Linked DNA regions of Homo sapiens: region 1 is linked to region 2. Evidence: promoter capture Hi-C in 16 types of primary human blood cells and fetal thymus (Javierre and others, 2016). All regions are on one chromosome and are shown on one strand. Each heading gives the region's core, a stretch centred on a gene start or on the middle of the fragment in contact. The rest is flanking DNA. Distances are from core to core; before and after follow the strand shown.

What was found. The method cuts DNA at HindIII sites, captures the fragments that hold promoters and counts their contacts. A CHiCAGO score of 5 or more calls a contact.
Region 1: a contact is called between the fragment with the promoter of ARMC3 here and the fragment with the promoter of PIP4K2A in region 2, in 16 of 17 cell types (M2 macrophages, total CD8 T cells, naive CD8 T cells and 13 more). The highest score is 13.8, in M2 macrophages.

The regions. Positions count from the first base shown.
Region 1 is chr10:22,924,384-22,931,342 of GRCh38, reverse strand. It overlaps ARMC3 (armadillo repeat containing 3), which reads right to left and starts at 3,290. Exons shown (of 19, transcript NM_173081.5): 1 at 3,237-3,290. The HindIII fragment of the contact is 5,434 bases long and covers 817-6,250 here.
Region 2 is chr10:22,711,096-22,718,539 of GRCh38, reverse strand. It overlaps PIP4K2A (phosphatidylinositol-5-phosphate 4-kinase type 2 alpha), which reads left to right and starts at 3,962. Exons shown (of 10, transcript NM_005028.5): 1 at 3,962-4,357. The coding sequence starts at 4,214. RefSeq lists enhancers at 3,100-3,707, 3,708-4,316 and silencers at 3,477-4,146, 4,447-4,526, 4,697-4,816, 5,117-5,226. The HindIII fragment of the contact is 12,209 bases long and covers 1-7,444 here.

The sequences.
Region 1 (6,959 bases), core at 2,041-4,540, 210 kb before region 2:
TCCTTTCCACTTGTCCTCATATGTCCATGTCTGTGTGGAAAAAGTGAAAGGAATGGAATTTATACATAGTTAACATACCACAGAGGAGTAACCAGCCTGGGTTCAAAGAACTTTTCAGGCCGGGCAGGTGGCTCACGCCTGTAATCCCAGCTCTTTGGGAGGCCGAGGTGGGCGAATCACGAGGTCAGGAGTTCAAGACCATCCTGGCCAACACAGTGAAATCCTGTCTCTACTAAAAATACAAAAATTAGCCGGGTGTGGTGGCACGTGCCTTGTAGTCCCAGCTACTCAGGAGGCTGAGGCACAAGAATCACTTGAACCCGGGAGGCGGAGGCTGCAGTGAGCCGAGATCGCACCACTGCATTCCAGCCTGGGCAACAGAGTGAGACTGTCTCAAAAAAAAAAAAGAAACTTTTCAAGATGTTAATGTCTATTAGAATAACCCAGGAAATCTATCTAGTTTTCTTCAGTGAGAGTTTGTGGAATTATGTTTGACATCAGGGCCATCTTAAACGGTATATCGTAGGAGCAATCTTAAACGGTATATCATAGCCTTAAGGAAATTACCATAGTCTCAGTAGAAATCCTAGGAAGTAGAAAATCCTTGGGGAGAATCTACAGTGTCAGGGTTAGCTCAAATTGCATGTCAAGGGTCAAAAGCAACTCCTAGCATTAGAGACACTGACCAGAATTTATCACATACATTAAAAAGCCACGTCTTCATAGAAACTCCTAGATACTTCTGAAAGGCATTTATTCTAGGTCTCTAACTTCAGACCACACTACTTTTAAGACTTTGGAGGGCCTGGGCAAGCTTATTCACACAATAGCCAATATATTAAAATGTTAAAATGTGCCTGCATCGCCCATTAAATGTCATTTGCATCATAAAAACTTTTGAAATTTGTATTTGAAATTACTCAGCAATCAGTACATACACCTGGAAATTCTTGTAAAATGAGAAAATTGTTTTCAAATGTAATAAAAATTTATATTAATAAAACATTTAATTAACACTAATTTTTCAGTTCTCTTTTCATATTTTAGAGCCAATATAAGCATTTTTTTCAAATCTCAAACATCTTCCTTAGGTGCTTGAAAAGTGAACAGGCCCTAGACCTTGTGCCTATAATATTTCAGGCAGAGAGGCAGAAACTATTCTGGGCAAATGAGAATCTATCCTACAATTAATCTCTAGGAAAAAAAAAAGAGAGAGTTTATAGCACTCTATAACCAATTCCAAGACAGAGCAGCCTTTGATTTATAAAATAATTGCTTATGAATAATATTCAGGAAGCAATTTAATTACACCTGCATAAAGTTGTTTTAAATCATCTGATTTTCACTTAGGAACTAATTTTTCCTACTTCAGGATAGTGTTTTTGAGCAATTGCATAGTGCAGAGGTTAGAAGAGCTTACACAGACAGTATTGCAATGATAGAGTGTCTCCTAAGCTAAAGAATGAAGTTAAAAGCCTATGTGTTTTATCATGGCCCGGCGTGGTGGCTCACTCCTGTAATCCCAGCACTTTGGGAGGCTGAGGCGGGTGGATCACCTGAGGTCAGGAGCTCAAGACCAGCCTGGACAACATGGCAAAACTCTGTCTCTACTAAAAATACAAAAATTAGCCTGGAGTGGCGGTGGCATGTGCCTGCATTCCCAGCTACTGGGGAGGCTGAGGCAGGAGAATTGCTTGAGGCCGGGAGGCGGAGGTTGCAATAAGCTGAGATCACCCCATTGCACTCCAGCCTGGGTGACAGAGCGAGACTCTGTCTCCTCCCCCAAAAAAAGCCTATGTGTTTTATCACCATATTGGGTATGATAGTTAATGGAGGAGAGACTGAACAGCTGACATAGGTCGGTGGCAATGAGCTATGGAGATGATCCTTACAAGGGTAATACATTTCACTGTGGAGAATTTGGAAAACAAGGGCACAACGAATAAAATAAAAATCACCCAAAGATAAGCTCAGAGAGATCAATACTATTTCTTTTCTTTTCCTTTCCTTTCCTTTCCTTTCCTTTCTTTTTCTTTTTCTTTCTCTTTCTCTCTCTCTTTCTCTCTCTCTCTCTCCCTCTCTCTCTCTCTTCTCTTTTTTTCTTTTTCTTTTTCTTTTTTGAGACAGAGTCTCACTCTGTTGCCCAGGCTGGAGAGTGGCCTGATCTTGGCTCATTGCAACCTCCACCTCCCAGGTTTAAGAGATTCTCCTGCCTCAGCCTCCTGAGTAGCTGGGATTACAGGTACCCGCCACCACGCTCGGCTAATTTTTGTATTTTCAGTAGAGACAGGTTTCCCCACATTGACCAGGTTGGTCTCGAACTCCTGACTTCAGGCGATCCACCCGCCTCAGCCTCCCAAAGTGCTGGGGTTGTAGGCGTGAGCCACCGTACCTGGCTTTGTGTGTTTTTCTAAAGTGATTTTAACATCCTGCCTCAACTTCTATCCCCTACTTTCACCTTCCCTTCCTGGGTTCATATTCCTACTAAATTCTTATATTAACAAATAAATTCATGAAGTCTCAGTTTCCCTTCATTGCTTTAATAATCTCCAGTGGATTAGCATAACATGCCATTACAAATATTTTAAAATCCCTTAGCTATCTAGCCAGTCTCTGATTGTTGAAATTTGTTTCTAATTTTCTGGAAATATGGACAGGGCTGAAAGAACGTCCTTGGACATAAAATTTTCATCCATTATCCCCAACTATTTCTTTAGGATAAATCTCTAGCAGTAAATTAACTGGGTGAAAACTTCAGGGCATTGGATATGCAAACAACTCTGCTCTAAAAATGCATCTTCTTGACTACTGGAGCCATTTTTTTTTTCACGAGTTGATTGGTCCTTTGTATTTGTTCTTCGTGAACGTTCAGCCTATGATTTTAAATATTTTCTAATGAGTTCTGCTTTGAGAAGATTTAAAGAGGAGGAGGGCTCAAGAAATCGAGGCCACTTCTGAGTTGCTCACAGTCAAGTAACGGAATCTGACTTGATCTCACCTCAGATCCCCTCTCGGGCCTCAGTTTTGTCACCTGTTGAATGGGAGGTGGCGGGATGCTTACGAAACCCACCCCAAGCCCCGTCTAACCCTGCGGGCGCGAGGCAGAAACTAACAACGCCCAGCAAGGTGTTGCCTCACTGACCCAAGCAGTCTGCGCCCACGTGGCACCTTCTCCTTTCCCAGGTTTTCCTCAGGCCTCTGCCTTGGGCCTCCCCACCCCACGGGGTTACCTTTACCTGCCGGGAGATCCCGCCGAGTAGCTAGCTGCTCCGCAAACCCAGCAGACGAACCCCCAGTCCCTTGTTGTGCCTCGTTGCTAGGCGACGCCACGCCGCGCCGCGCCTGCGCCCTGGGAACGCTCGGGGCTGCTAGGGCGCCCATTGTCCCGCCGAGGGCAGCGGCCAGTGCGGGAGGAGCCAAGTGCGTCCGCGATTACCTGAATCCAGTGCTTTAGGGGAGAATGGAAACTGGGGGTGGAAGCTGTAAATCAAGAGGCAGTTCAGCCTCAGTTTCTGGCCCAAGGACTGGCTGTGGGTTCAAATACGCAAATACTATTGCATTCTTCCAAATAGAGGCGTCAGCCGGAATCTCTATGCAGATGAAACCCACATCAGCCACCTCCTGCCCAGGCTCCGTTAAGCTGCAGACCTGCACTGCCACATCTCTTTGCACTAGGATGTCCAATCCGTTTCCACAGAACTTCTCATGGCCCTTCAAAGCCCCGTTCTCTTCCTCTTTCTTTCCTCTTCCTGCCATTCTTCCAATTGCCTAGACTCAGAAGGAGCTTCAATTTCCCTTCTTCCTCCCATGCCCCCCAACCACAGTCATCACTTCAGCCACTTCTTGGCGGCTTACATTTTGTTTCCTGCTTGTTCCCTTTCTCATATCCTTATTGTCACTTCAATCCAGCTCGTCATTTTTTGGCCTTCTGGCTGAGAAATTCAGTTGCTCTCTGCTTACAGTTCTTTCTACGTATCACAGGCAAATCGGCCATCCAGAAATCATCGTTCCAGTCTTGTCACTTCCCTACTCAAATGTCAGCGGCTTCCTAAGATAAATTTTCAACACATTGGCCTGGAATTTAAGACCGTCTGCTCCATCTCTACTCCATCTGTGCAACCACATTTTCAACCGATCTCCACCATCCAAGCTCCAGCCAAACTTACTGTTCCCGAAATTTTCCACACTTTTCTCTAGATTTTCTTGCTTATCTGTTCATCACTTCATTTTTCAACAAATATTTATAAAGTAGCTTCTATTTCCCAGGTCATGTGCAATACCTGAAATATTCTCTCATTTCCACTTAATTAAGCCCAGCTCAAATGCCATCTTCATAAAATATTTTTTGATTGCCTTTAGCAAAAAGTCTCTCCCTCTCCTCTTAGACTTTGCAAATTCCGTCTCCTACCGGCCCCTGTTGGTCTCCCAGTCCTAAGAATGATAGATGCTTCTTATAATTGCTACTTTTATATATCTTATGTTCTCTTCTCACCATTTAAATTGCCTGATAAACAGCTTTATAACAATTATTTGTATTCAGTTTTCCATGGTCAAATATCCGGTGTGACTTCTGTATAGAAAAGATCTTAAGTAATGGTCATGAAAGTAGGAAAAGGATTAAGACCAAGTAGCATCAAGGAAACTAAGGAGGGAGTTTCAAGAATATAAGCGTCATCAAGTGTTATATGATTGGACCTTGAATAATATACACCTGTATTTTCAGCCTCTCCCTGTCTTCCACGTTTTTTCCTGTTGGTATATAATTATGTTGAAGCCCCTCCCATGCCTCATCTAAAAAGCAAAAACAAATAAAATCCCTTTGATGTTGTTGTTCCTTCTAACTATTATCCTATTGTTTTCTTTCTCTTCTTGGTCATGACTTTTCAAAAAAAGTAGCCAGCATTAGATACTTACATATTTTTAACTTCCTATTCACTCTTCAGACTATAGTGACCTGTTTTCATCCCAGCACTAAAACTATCCATATCCATTGGATGCTTCTTAGCCCTCATCTTGCTTGACATTGCTGCTGTATATAATACTCAATGACACCTCATTCTTGAAACTCTTTTCTTGGTTTCCTTGGTACTACTTGCTCTTGATCTTCCTCCTACTTTCTTTTATGACCATCATTTAAGATCTTTTCTATACAACAGGGTCTATCTATGTTGCCCAGGCTTGTCTTGAATTCCTGGCCTCAAGGAATCCTCCTGACTCAGCCTCCTGAGTAGCTGGGATTTTATAGGGATATATGCCCTATTGTGGTTTTTTTACAGAATCTTAAATGTTGAAATTTCCCAGGGATCTGTCCCTTGTTCTCTTTTCACACTATATGCTTTTCTAGGTGATCTTATTTATATTTGTGACTTCAACTATTGCACATATGTAGCTCCTCATCAGACTCCGGTACTGAACTCTAGACCCATATATCCTACTTGCTACACAGTTCCACCTGGATACCCACAGGCACTTCAGTCATCAACACTACCCACCTAAACTCATCATTTTCCCAGTATAGACATGTTTTTCCATTTATCTAGGGGTACCAACAGGTGTTCTACCCAAACAGACCACCAAGTCTGACAGGCATCCTAGACTTATTCTCCTTTTCATGCAGTTAATTATTGGATTCCCCTAAAAGTTTCTTGAATTTATTCTCACCTTCCAATTCCCATAGCCCAAGTACAGAAAGTCACTGTCCTTTACCTGAATTCATCTAACAAGCCTTCTGGCAGGTCTTCCATCCTCTAGACTCATCCTAGCTTCAATTCATCTTCTCCAAGACAATCAAAGTAATCATTCTAAGATGCAAATTTAATTTGTCTGTGTCCTTGCTGGCTCCAATAGCTCTAACACACAAATGATGAAATGCAACAAGATTCTTAAATTGACACTCAAGATCTTTCTTGTTCTGACTGACTGCTTCCTACTACAATAGCTTCTGTCATTGTTCAAAAATATAGCAAACTGCTCAGCATTCTCCAAGTACACCATGACATTTTGAGCCCTTCACTCCCCTAATCAGCCTGAAAACCACTTATTCATCTTTCAAATTTTAACTTAGTCATCATTTCCTCCAAAAAGTCTTTATTAGCTTCTTCAGACAGAGGGAAGCATTTCTCATTCGTTGCTATAGCTGTACCTTACACTTGCTCTATTTGTTATTTTCACATGATACTGTAATGTATTTGTTGACATGTATGTCTCCCCACCTAGGCTGTTTCTAAATGTTCTTCAAGTAACTAAAGCTTTTTTAATACTCACTATGAGACTGGCAATTATGAAGTGGTTAAAGTGCACAATTAAATCCACACCGTAATCCTGTGAGGTCTGAATGAAGTACAGGGTGATTAGCAGAAGGTCACTCTACTAGTAAATGGTAAAGACAGGACTTGAACTAAGGTCAGCTTGACTTTTATATCCATGTTCTGCACCAATATATCATACCAGCCCATCCTGAAATTATAGTGTTATAACAAGTTGTGATTTATTTTATTTTATTTTATTATACTTTAAGTTCTGCACAATGTGCAGGTTTGTTACATTTGTATACATGTGCCATGTTGGTGTGCTGCACCCATTAACTCGTCATTTACATTACGTATATCTCCTAATGCTATCCCTCTCCCCTCCCCCCACCCCATGACAGGCCCCAGTGTGTGATGTTCCCTTGTGATGTGTTTTTATGAAATAATTAAAACTACTGCTTTAATTCTTGTTTTATAGACTTAGTCTTTGCTGAGTATGTCAAATTTGGGCGGGAGATCATGTTTATTTTAACATATACAGTTGGATGGGTTTGGACAAGGGTTTGCAGTTGTGTAACCATCACCCCAGGGAAGTTTCAGAGACCATCTCCATCATCCCAAATTTCCCTCATGCCCCTTTGAAGTCAAATCTCTCCCTCTAACTCACTTCCCTGGGAACAACTGCTCTGCTTTCTCTCCCTATCATTTTGG
Region 2 (7,444 bases), core at 2,713-5,212:
CTACCTAAAAATACCACACTATGCCCCTATCTGTCCCTCACATGGTGCTATTGGCCTCTGCACCCACCCACAGATTGCTGCTTTCCTAAGGCGGAGCCTCTCCTAACAACAGGTATCCATCCCCTCTTCCTCTAGGGTCATTCAGCACTCTGTCATCACTAAATTCAGTTTTTTGGCAGTTGCAGCAAGCCTATTGTCTTGCATTATTAATATAAAATTAAGTATAATATAGCTATTATGAAACAAATAAATGCTATGGAAGCACTGAGGTGGAAGGATGAATTTGAATTAGGAGGATCAGGAAAGCATCAGGGAAGAGAGGATTTTTGAGTCTAATTGTTTTCAAGGGCAGGATCCAATAAAGGAGTTTAGGTTGGGTGGTGGTGAAAGGCAATAATTGATGATGATGGTAAGCCTTCAAGCCTGGCCAATGAAAATTTGTTAAATAAAAGAACTTCCAGCTGGGGTAACCGAGTGATATGAATGCCATTTCCAATATAATACAAGAAATAAAGTAACTTGTGGATGGGGAAAGATGTCAAACTTGGCTTTAGATATCTTTTTTTTTTTTTTTGAGATAGGGTCTTGCTCTGTTGCCCAGGCTGGAGTGCAGTGGTGCAGTCATAGCTCACTGCAGCCTCAGTGATCCTCCTGCCTCAGCCTCCCAAGTAACTGAGACCACAGGATGCATACCACCATGTGCAGCTAATTTAAATTTTTTTTTTTTTTTTTGGTAGAAATGAGATCTCGCTATTATATCCAGGCTACCCTTGAACTCCTGGGCTCAAGTGATTCTCCCATCTTGGCGTCCCAAAAGTGCTGGGATTACAGGCATCAGCCAGCATGCCCAGATGGTTTTAGACACTTTTAAAAGATGCCTGTGGAAAAATGATGTACAAATGTGCAACCAGGCATTTCTCTGGGGTCGGGGAAGAGTTTATGAGTTACTTGCAAGCACTCTACATTTTCTATTGTGTTGTCTGGTTTACAAAGGGTTTTCATTGCCATTATCTACTATTGATTTTGATTCTAACAAACATCCTATAATGTAGGTAGGGGAGGATTATATTACTAGGTTCAAAATAGTTCCTAAAGTGACATTTGTGTCTGATGATAGTTACTGTTAACATAAAGAACCCGAGGCTGGGAGAGGTTAAGTGATTTGCTCAAGTAAGTGGGAGAGCTACAGCTCAGTCCCCGTGATGTCTCACTAAAAATTTAGGTTTTGGGCTTTTTTAAACCACTAAGAGCAGTGATGGTTGATGCTGGAGAAGCAGATATCATTTTGGATGAAAGCAAGCAGGAAATTACGACGAGGGGACTTAAAAAACAGTCAAAGAAAGAATAGGAGCAAATGAAGGTGACCACATGACCTCCCCTCAACCCCTGAGGAGACTCAAGATCCTAAAGGGATAATGGCCTGTCATCCTTCATCTCCCTGACAGGACCAAGCAGTCTGCCAAGGGCACAGAAGGTATCTACTATATTTGAGTGGAGTAATAATGACAACAGACAACTTACAGCGGGTCCTCAAATACTGTCATTTTGTTCAATGTTGTTTTGTTATAATGTTGATGAGAAAAAAATGGATTTCTAGCCGGGACCACTGTTTGTATTTGCAGGTTCTCCTCGTGCCTGCAAGAGTTTTCTTTGGGTACCTTGGTTTCCTCTCACATCTTAAAGACATGCACGTTCAGTTCATAGGCTTGTCTACATGATACCAGTAGTTTTTCTTTTCTTTTTTTTTTTTTGTTTTAAGAGACGGGGTCTCCATCTATTACCCAAGCTAGAGTGTAGTGGCATTATCACAGCTCACTGCAGCCTCCAACTCCTGGGCTCAAGCAATCCGCCTACTGCAGCCTCCAGAATAGCTGAGACTACAGGTGTGTACCACCATGCCTGGTTAATTTTTGTATTTATGGTAGAGATGGGGTTTCACCATATTGCTCAGGCTGGTCTCCAACTCCTGGGCTCAAGCAGTCCACCTGCCTCATGCCTCCCAAAGTGCTGGGACTACAGGCATGAATCACTGCCCCCTTCCTAAATGGTCCCAGTTTAAGTGAGTGTAGGGGTGTGTGTGTGTGTGTGTGGTGTGTGTGTGTGTGTGTGTGTGTGTGTGTGTGTCTTGCAACAGAATGGCATCCTATCCAGGGATGGTTCCCACCTTTTGCCCAAGCTGAGCAGCTGGGATAAGGCTCCCACTATCTGTGACCTTGAACTGGAATAAATGAGTTGGAAAAATGAATAAATCCGTGAAACAAATGACTGTAAAATAAAAATATGTAAGTGTACATTAATCATAAAAATGCACGACAATAAATGAGATAGGAGTGCACTCAGCTACCATATTTGTGATTGTTTTTGAATTTCATGGTAGCAGCAGGTCCTACAGGCAACTTTTGCTTTGCAAACACTTATTCCTTGACTTAACCCAGCACCACAGCAACCATCGCTCACTTAATCACTAGAAATTTGGCAAACCATTATCTTGTTTTTATCAATCTTTAAAAAATGTAGGTAGGCCAGGTGCAGTGGCTGGTGCCTGTATTCCCAGCACTTTAGGAGGCCAAGGTGGGCAGATTCCTTAAGCCCAGGAGTTCGAGACCAACCTGGGCAGCATGGTGAAACCCCATCTCTACCAAAAATACAAGAAGTTTATCCAGGCTTGGTGGTGCGCGCCTGTAGTCTCAACTACTGGGGAGTCTGAAGTGGGAGAATCACCTGAGTCTGGGGAAGTAGAGCCTGCAGTGAGCTGTGATTGCACCACTGCACCCCCAGCCTGGTTGACACAGCGAGACCCTATCTCAAGGGAAAAAATAAAAATAAAAAAGAGGTATAGCTCACATTTATTTTAATGTTTAATATTAGAAGTGTTTTGAATTTTTACTTTGAAGTTCGGTGATGTTTTTGTAACCGGAAATAATGCTGTAGGAACTTAACTCTTTTTTTATATGTCAGCCTATGGCAAATTTGGTTTTGTTATATGTTGTTTTGCTTAAGGTGACAGTTTCCAAGAACCTACTCCGTGAGGACTGGTGAGCTGGGTCAGAGTAAATAGCACAGGATGACGACTGCAAGGACGATATGGGGGCAGCAGGGTTTTAGACATACTTGGAATGGCAGCTTCCTGAGGTAGGCCAAGTATTCTCAGCATAATAAGGGCTACATTTAGGTGTATCTGGAGGAAGACGGTGAACAGATTTCCACGGACGGTGAGTGCACTGGAAAACAGGCAGGGATGGCAAGTACCATAGTGATGGATTGGAAGAAGGTGCACTTTGGGGCATGATTCTACTGGTTAAGCCAAGGGCTCTCGATGAGGTCCGAGGTTCCTGCCCCGGGCACGGAGTGGGTTGGCAGTGACAGCCCAGCCTATTACGTGGGAGTCTCCCTCTTGAATGGCTCCAGGAGGCCCATATCGAGGGTCTGAAAGGCCAGACGGTTATCCGCACAAAAGTATTAAGTTCATTTCAGGGACTGACCCGGCAATGTGCCCGGGTCCTTCCCCTCGGTGCTGGGAAGCCCTGGTCTCCCTGCAGCATTTCACACCTGGCTGGGTCTCCTGACTCGTGGCGTGGGTGAGTGCATGAGCCTCCCTCCTTCGCCTGATCGACGCCTGGGGGCTCCTCTCCCCAACCTCCTCACTCTGCCCACTCTGTCCTCTCCCTCCTTGGGGAGCGGCAGGGGACGCCTAGCCGGGGTCCCCAGGCTCCCGCTCGCAACCCACGGCCTCCTCCGCGGGCAGGGAGCGAACGCCCGGAGGTCGCCCGCGCACAGGGGGCGGCCCGGCTGCAGCGGAGCCGGGGCGGGAAGGCGCAGCCTAACGGTCCAGCTGCCGCGCCCCGCGCCCCGCACCCAGTGCCCCGCCCGCGGCGCCGCAGCCGCCTCCCGCCTGCCCGCCCGCCCCCTGCGTCATGACGCCGGCGCCCAACGCGGAAGCCGCTCGCCGCGCGCCGGGTCCAGCCGCGGGCTGAGCGCGGATCCGCGGCGGGCGCAGGATACGGGCCGGGGCGCGAGCCGAGCGCAGTCTGCCGGGCCGAGCGGGCGGAGCGAGCCGAGTGGGGCTGAGCGCGCCGGCGGCGGCGGGCGGAGCGGAGCGCGGCGCGCCGGGGCCGCCGCCGGGGGGATGCGGCTGCCTCCCCGGGCCGGGGTGTAGAGAGGGCGGGTCCCCGGCCTCGGGAGCACGGCGGTGGAGGGGACATAGGAGGCGGCCATGGCGACCCCCGGCAACCTAGGGTCCTCTGTCCTGGCGAGCAAGACCAAGACCAAGAAGAAGCACTTCGTAGCGCAGAAAGTGAAGCTGTTTCGGGCCAGCGACCCGCTGCTCAGCGTCCTCATGTGGGGGGTAAACCACTCGGTAAGGGCTCAGCTGCGGCGCGCGGTCCCCTTCCTCCTCCTCCTCTTCCTCCTCGTTCCCCTCCTCCTCCGGCTGCAGCTGCTGCGGGGCGGGGAGCCGGAGTCAGCCCTGGACCTCCGGCTGCTCGCCCGCCTCGAAGCCCCCAGCCCCGCGGCGCGTGCCCCCAGCCCTCTGGGCCGCCCAGGCACCACCACTTGCGTCCCCTTTAGATCTATGGCCCGGTGCGGGTCGGGGGTCCCGTGTGCATGTGAGTCTCACGGTGGGTGCCAGTGCCGCCCCCGGTCCGCCCGCCCGCCCGCAGGTCGGTCCCCGCAGCCTGGGAGGTAGGAAGTTTGTGCGGGGCACGGCGCCTCGGCTGTCAGCCCCGGCGGGAGCTGCTGGGGGCCGGGTCCGGGCGACCGCTACCCGGTGTGGGGGCCGCGCGGCGCCCGCGTCTTCCGCTTGCGGGCAGGTGTACCTGTCCCGGGCTGGGCGCGTGCGAGCCTCCCACTGGGGCACTGGGGCGAGGATACCGGAGCGCGAGCAGATTTGGGGCAGCAGCTTTAGTGCTTAGGTCCTTTCTTTTTCCTTTAAAGGCAATATTACTGGGCACAAGTCGGCTTTTTGGCAAAGCAGCAGCCGATGTAAATATGGCTCTGGCGTCGGGCGGCATCCCTGCGCTTCTCCCGCATCGCCCTGCCGCTGTGCGGGCTGGAGAGCCCTTGGCGGGGAGTCTTCCTCCCTTCGTCGCCTCCCCCCACTTTGGGGAGTCAGGCAGAAGTCACCGACTGCGGAAGGGCGGCCGGGGCGGGGACAGCAGGCGGGGGTCCCGGCGGGCGCGGGCGGAGGGGGTCCCGAGTTGGCCGCACCCGCTGTGGGGGGTGTGGGAAAGGCTGGAGAACGCGTGGAAAGGTTAGCGTCACGCACAGTCGGGGATTGGAGGATGCGCCGCTGCGGGCTATGCGGACTGCGGTTCGAGGGTCTGAAATAGCCTCCTGCTGATCTGACAGCGAGAAACTCCTGCAGTTTTAATCCACTTCGATAGGATCAGGAAACATGATCGGAGCTGTTGGCTCAGCCAGGAAAGTTTAAACGAGCTGTGAATTTTGACCATGACCTTAGCCACTGCAGTCACTTAGCATCTGGGGAAAAGTGTAAGTTCGCTTTCCCTGCTTTTGATTTCGATGGATGTCTGTATGTCCTTTTCAGCGTAATGGAAATGACAGAAAACCATGCTGGTTTTTCGGAAAACACACACACAGACACACACACACACACACACACACACACCCTCAATGTAGTGAAGTTGTTTAAAATGCCTAAAAGCATCGTTTTTGTATTTTTCTTCCCCAAGCTGAGCAGGGGGAAGGGCAAAACAGTATCAGGATCGATCGTGTTTGCATGGAGTGAGTGTTTTTGGAAAAGTTGAGAAATGATTATTTTTATCCAGCTTAATGACTGACTCACTGAAGTTCATTTTAACTTCCTGGCAACTTCTTTAGCTATTTGGGAATGTAAGTTGTTACAAGAGCATGCATTACTGCACCAAAAACTCCTCTCTCAAGTTTTATTACGGAAAATGAAATGCAATTTTTCCTAAGTAATAAGTTTACAATGTAGAGTTATGTATAATTTTGTTAAGCTCTTTTATTATTTATGTTAGTAGTTTTTGGGTCCCTTATTACTAGAATAGAAACTTACAATTTAAAAAAAGGATGAATACTGTAGTGCTTACTCATATTTATGGTGCTTTTATCTCCTTTGGAGTTCTGGTGTTTTGGTCAGGAGAGTGTTTCTGTCTCGGGGTTTAATTTAGTAAGGTAGTGTCAACAATATGCTGCCGAAAAAGAGTGTGCTTTCTGGGAACTCGTCTGAATTCCAGTTTGCCTTAAAAAATCTTGTAATTGTGTATGTTTTACTGTAACCACTTACGTTGCTACCTTATATTTATGAATTGCTACATTTGTTTTAGAGTTTCTTGCTAATTGGAAATATTTTGAAACTACTTAAGTGTTTCATAGTGTATGACTTGTAAATAGTACATTTGGTGTTATTTTCTTTTGCTCTCAAGAGAAGTTGGCAGTTCTAAGTATCCACAACCAGAGGAGTGAAGTTTCCATTTCATATAAATGTAAGCATGTTACTCATTCAACAGATATATATTGGGCACATACAGTGCCAGCTACTGTGGGAAGAATTGCTAAAACACCTCTAATATTTTTATCCAACTGTCTTTATTTTGAGGGCTCTGAGTTGACATAAGAAAGGTCTGTTTCACAGCCTTTTTTTTCAAAATGTCTATTTTCTTTACTATATTATTTTTGAAAAAAGAATGGAGGTGTAATATAAACATGAAATCTAAAACCCTTAGATGCCATGTATTTCTGGTTTGATTTCATTTTAGGTGACAATGTCTGATATTAGATAAATGTTTTATATGACCTTCTGTGCACCAAAGTTTATAGTATAATGTGAGAATAAATATGTCAGCAGTCTTAAGAACAAACAAGCATGGTGTTGTATACGAGCATCTTCCACATACTGTGGTAAAACGCTCATTGAATCTGCGCTTTAAGTTTTTCTTAAATTCTAACTGTTGACCTTGGGCATGTTAAGGTCAGGTTTTGGCATCAGTGTTTGCATCTGTGAACTGAGGTTGTTTGGATGATTTCCAAGTCTAACTCAAGATTCTGTTTTTTCAGTCTACTAGGTGCACAGTGTTATACTAGGATTTGTAGAATACTATATAAAAGTTGTCTTACTATTATAACCTTCCAAATGCAGCAACATTCAGGGAATTTTCAAGACCTTGACTACAGGGGAAGGAAATCTATGGTGATTTTAAGAGACTGTGAACTAAGGGTTTGTTATATTGAATGTAGCTGAACTGCATTGCAGTCTATTAAGCCAAAGTCGATTTGATTGAAACATAACAACTTGCAATTAAGGTGAAAATGTTCAAGTCCATTGAGGTGGTAATGAAAATCTTGATTTGGGCAATGGTCATAGTCGGGAGTAAGCCTGCCATTGTGTGGTTAATTTGATATGTTACTGCTTTGTAACTTAAAATACCCATCAGTGAATGGATCAGTGCCAATTTTTAAGTAT